Regions from separate parts of the Homo sapiens genome. Here region 2 is linked to region 1. The links are contacts of gene promoters, found by promoter capture Hi-C in human tissues and cell types (Jung and others, 2019). All regions are on one chromosome and are shown on one strand. The core of a region is centred on a gene start or on the middle of the fragment in contact, and the rest is flanking DNA. Distances in the headings are between cores, read along the strand shown. Region 1 holds the start of TMEM202 (transmembrane protein 202). Region 2 overlaps HEXA (hexosaminidase subunit alpha).

Evidence for each region. Contacts are between HindIII fragments. The study calls those that stand out against the background at their distance.
Region 2: a contact is called between a fragment that was not itself captured here and the fragment with the promoter of TMEM202 in region 1, in 1 of the 25 tissues and cell types used here (hippocampus).

What each region holds. Positions count from the first base shown.
Region 1 is chr15:72,397,044-72,399,743 of GRCh38, reverse strand. It overlaps TMEM202 (transmembrane protein 202), which reads right to left and starts at 1,439. Exons shown (of 5, transcript NM_001080462.3): 1 at 1,337-1,439; 2 at 836-1,091. The coding sequence starts at 1,417. The HindIII fragment of the contact is 13,856 bases long and covers 1-2,700 here.
Region 2 is chr15:72,352,568-72,355,267 of GRCh38, reverse strand. It overlaps HEXA (hexosaminidase subunit alpha), which reads left to right. Exons shown (of 14, transcript NM_000520.6): 4 at 1,531-1,577; 5 at 2,090-2,200. Among named protein-coding and RNA genes, the nearest start is that of HEXA, 22 kb to the left of the region's middle. The HindIII fragment of the contact is 4,095 bases long and covers 1-2,700 here.

The DNA.
Region 1 (2,700 bases), core at 190-2,689:
AAAACTTATTTTAAAATATTTTGTGTTGCACTTTCAGATTTATTTAAATTCACATAAAATTTGACATAAATAACATTATCTTCATAGCTGGCATTTGTTATACCACATATCTAACGTACATTTAAGTTCTATTCCACTGCTAGGAGAAGAACAAGCTGACCTTGAAAGTTAAATCTAATAGAGGTTAAGATATTTGCTTTATCTTCCAGCTATGATCAATCACTTCTCTTCTAATTCTGCAAGCCACATTAGAATACCAATCACATTGCTTAGCAGTAACACCTTGTAAATGAGTTATTCCTAGGGCAGGCATGGTGGCTTACACCTATAGTCCTGGTACTTTGGGAGGATCACTTGAGGCCAGGACTTTGAGACCAGCCTGGGAAATATAATGAGAACTTGTCTCTACAAAAGAAAAAAAAATTTAAAAAAATTAAAAATTAGCCAGGAGTGTTGGCACACATCTGTAGTTCCACCTACTCAGGAGGTTGAACAGGAAGATTGCTTGAGTCCTGGAGGTGGAGGCTGCAGTGAGCAATGATAGTGCTTTTGCACTTCGGCTAGGCGTTAGAGCAAGAGCCTGTCTCGAAAAACCAACCAACAAACAAAAACAGTTCTTCCCATAAAGAGAGTATAACCCATTATTTAGGACAGGAAACAACCTGGAATAGGAGAGAGAAAGGGCACACTGAGGATACCAAAGAAAGATCCATCCTGCACTTGGAGAGGTGAAGGCCAAAAGATCTTGGAGGAAGAAACATGAAGGGCCAATTTGTGTGAGCAGAAAGCTCTGCAATTGTGTGGGGCCTGTGGCATTTAATTCGGTGGCACTCACAGGGTGGCTTGGGTGTGTGGCTCCAGCACAGCTCATGGTTGCATAAGGTCCAGAGTCCTGCGTAGAGCTCAAGGCCATTCTTGATCACCAGAAACTGTACCCAGTTCAGTGGGGACATGGCGATCAGCATTAGGAGGCTAAAACTACAGAGGCTGCCACAGAGCGTTCGGATGTAGATGTGTGCCTGATCCATAAGCTGCTGCTGCCTTTGGCATGACATCGAGGCACTTGGATGTTTCTTGGCAGGGACGGTAGGCTACAAGGATGAGGGAAATATTGCCTACCCGAAAGAATAACCCCTGATCCCCAGGGTCACCCGCTCTTCTCTACCTCAAGCATTCCCATGTGTGTTTGATTTATAGATATTTTTCCCTACTCCTAAAAAAAAAAAACCCCACAATTTTCAGGGTGATCTTTTCTGTCTTTAGGATGCTCTGTGTAGCCCTGCCTTTAAGTAAGTTCTCTTCTTCCCATCTGACTTTCAATTAGATACCTCCTCACCCTTTGGTATTTCCGGTTCCCCTTTATTTTGGGAACCTCAGGACTGTGGAAAGTCAAGGTTAAATGTTCCCTTCGCTCCATCTTGGCAGTTAGTTCTCTAACTGCCACGGAATTTGTCTCTGCATCTCCTCACACATGCTGGCAGAAGCAAAAAGGGCCAGGACCCATGGCATAGATCCTGTTTCTGTTTTATATTTTTGATCTGGTCAGATCAGGAAGAAATCACCACATTTTAAGCATGTGCATGTATGTGTGATGCTCCCCACCCTCCATTCTCCACCTACTCCCAACTCTTTTATTAAATAAATCCACAAACATTTTGTTAGCAGTGGCTGTGTGTCAGGCTTTGTGCTAGCTTCTGGGACACAAAAATAAATAAGACACAGTTCCCTCATAGCAAATAAAAAAAGGGGAACTCATATGCTTGTTGGCCACATGTGTTTCTTCTTTTGAAAAGTGTTCATGCCCTTTGCCCACTTTTTAATGGGGTTATTTGTCTTTTTCTTGTAAATTTATTTGAGTTCCTTACAGATGCTGGATATTAGACCTTTGTCAGATGCATAGTTTGCAAAAAAATTTTCCCTTTCTGTAGGTTTTCTGTGTACGCTATTGATAGTTTCTTTTGCTATGCAGAAGCTCTTTAGTTTAATTAGATCCCATTTGTCAATTTTTGCTTTTGTTGCAATTGCTTTTTGCATCTTCATCATGAAATCTTTGCTGGTTTCTATGTTCAGATCATTAGAGAAATTAATCTTTGTATTTTTTTTTTAATTTTTTTATTTTTTTATTGATCATTCTTGGGTGTTTCTCGCAGAGGGGGATTTGGCAGGGTCATAGGACAATAGTGGAGGGAAGGTCAGCAGATAAACAAGTGAACAAAGGTCTCTGGTTTTCCTAGGCAGAGTGTTTGTGTCCCTGGGTACTTGAGATTAGGGAGTGGTGATGACTCTTAACGAACATGCTGCCTTCAAGCGTCTGTTTAACAAAGCACATCTTGCACCGCCCTTAATCCATTTAACCCTGAGTGGACACAGCACATGTTTCAGAGAGCACAGGGTTGGGGGTAAGGTCATAGATCAACAGGATCCCAAGGCAGAAGAATTTTTCTTAGTACAGAACAAAATGAAAAGTCTCCCATGTCTACTTCTTTCTACACAGACACAGCAACCATCCGATTTCTCATTCTTTTTCTCACCTTTCCCCCTTTTCTATTCCACAAAACCGCCATTGTCATCATGGCCCGTTCTCAATGAGCTGTTGGGTACACCTCCCAGACGGGGTGGTGGCCGGGCAGAGGGGCTCCTCACTTCCCAGTAGGGGCGGCCAGGCAGAGGCGCCCCTCACCTCCCGGACGGGGCGGCTGG
Region 2 (2,700 bases), core at 130-2,629, 44 kb after region 1:
AGGTGTGTGCCACCGCGCCCAGCCAGGAAGCTTTTTTTATGGGAACAATTGGCGTGTTTTCCCGTCTCTGTGGAATTGTCCCTGGAAGTTGACAGGTTTTACCCTGTGCAGCATCAGCAACTGCTGCTGCCCTAGTCAGGGGCTCTGGGAAGCAGTAGGAGAGTCTGTGGGCTGATGTTCTAGGTGCCAGCAGGGGACAGGTAGCTGGGGGCAGGGGGAATGATGCTACCACAGACACTGTCTGTCCAGCTCTTGCTAAAGACATGTAATTGGAAAGGTTTTTTTAAAAGGAAAACTATAACAAAAGAAATAGATACATGCAAAAAAAAAGATAAATAGTAGTGAAATATTTAGAACTACATTATTTCTGGAGAAAATGAGTTTACTGGCTAAACTATTGGCCCTTGCCCTTCTTCTGGGTTTACTGAGAAGGCATTTGGTGCCTAGATACAGACTTAGCCAAATATCTCTCCCACTTTTGGTAAACCCTCTGCTGGTGAATGATGTGGGAAACTCTCTCGGAATTCCACACCTTGCTTTAGTTTGTCTTCATTCCCTTGCTCCACTTCTATGCTTGGAGCAACAGCATGCTGCCTCCCCTTCCTGCCCTCTTGTACCTTTCATGCAGGTGCTGATGGTGAGTCAGGCTAGAGGTAAGGGAGGACCTGGAACTCCAGAATGCTGGGTGTCAGAGTCAGAGTGGGGAGAAGCCAAAACAGTACACTAGCAGTCTGCTCAAATCAGGTGCTGAGTGACTGCTGAGGTCTCATGGATTCTTTCACTTTGAAACTGGGGACTCTGATAATTTTCATGGGGCTTCTGCAGGGTTTCCAGAAGAGGGGCCCCAGCTGTTGAGAACATACAATACTCTGGGTTCAACATACCTGTGTGTGGGCCTTGCTAGACTCTAGGAGACAGTGTCAGTGGACTAGGGGAGTCCTTCTGGGGCAGTTGCTGTCCACCACACCTCAGCTCCCTATAGCTGGGTCTCTTCTTAGACTCTGAAGAGGAAGAGTGGATGATTTTTTTTATCTTCTAGGTCCAGCCATGAACCCAGGCTCCTTGGAAACCCAAGCTTATGATCACTTTCTCACAATTTATTCTGGGACCCCTTTTCTCAGCTCTCTTAGCTCCTGATAGGGGTTATCCATGAAAAGTCCAACTCTTGCAGGCTGAGTTGTCTCTGTGTCTGTCCTCATGAGTATATGTCTTGGCCTCTCTTCTCAATATTCTTGTGAAGGCACAGGAAATATAGATAAGAGGTATGTGGGTTTTGAAGGTTAGTATGTTGTAAGGAAGGGCACTAAAACCCTTACTCTGACATCTCCCAAAATGAAATACAGAAGTAAAGATGGATAGTGGCTTCCTAATATCCCCTTTTCATCAGTGTTAAAAATCGTCAAGCCTACACTACATCCATTTTCCCTGTGTACCCAAATGTTATGCTCTGCTACATTGAGAACCTTCCAAATAGAGACATCTCTTTTTCCACTCCCTGAGTCTTTACTCTGCCTCTCTACATCTTCCTAGGTCTGGAGACTTTTAGCCAGCTTGTTTGGAAATCTGCTGAGGGCACAGTAAGTGTGGACCCTCAAAAAGGGCTCCTTTTTCATCTCTGGGGTTGGATCCCAATATTGAGAATCCTAGAAAAATCTTGTTTTGCCTTAGGATCCTGGTGGCTTGAGATAGCCCCAGTAGAAATGGAAGAGGAGATGTGAGTGGAAAACTGGTTTGGTAGATTTGGTCTGTTTGGAATCACTGTAATTTGGTCCCCCTGAGTCATCATTTAGTAATGACCTTGAGGCCACACTGCTTTGAAGAAAATAAACTATGTTAACAGGAAAATCCAGAATTTGTAGGCTGAGTGGTGTTTGGGACAGTTGTATTAGGCTGGCGTTGGACAATTGCTCTCTGGGAAGGTGGCTGCTTATGGTCATTTATAGAGGTGGGGAGCATTTAGGGAGAGAGCGACCCTGAGAACAGTCACAGATTGGCTTTTTAAGAATCCTGGGAGAGTTGTCTTCATCTCCCTGTGCCCCCATAGTAAGCTTCCTTTGAAACTGACATGTTCAATGTTTGTTCTGCACAGTTCTTTATCAACAAGACTGAGATTGAGGACTTTCCCCGCTTTCCTCACCGGGGCTTGCTGTTGGATACATCTCGCCATTACCTGCCACTCTCTAGCATCCTGGACACTCTGGTAACCAGGCCTTAAGGCCTTCTTCACACTTAAGAGTTCTAGGGTGATGGAGCAACGGACAGACCAAGTTCCAAATTCTTAAAGAGTTAGAGAGGGAATGTATGGACTGGGTGTGGTGGCTCATGCCTGTAATCCCAACACTTTGGGAGGCCGAGGTGGGCGGATCACCTGAAGTCAGAAGTTCAAGGCCAGCCTGGCCAACATGGTGAAACTCTGTCTCTACTAAAAATACAAAAATTAGCTGGGCATGGTGGTGCATGCTTGTAATCCCAGCTACCTGGGAGGCTGAGGCAGGAGAATCGCATGAACCCAGGAGGCAGAGGTTGCAGTGGGTGGAGATCACGCCACTGCACTCCAGCCTGGGTGAAAGAGTGAGACGCTGTCTCAAAAAAAAAAAAAAAAATTGTATGTAATTCTATGAGCTCCTGGGAAAAATGTAGAAGATGAGCTGCTCCAAGACTCAAAAAATAACAGAGTGACTTAAATCTACCTTACAGGCT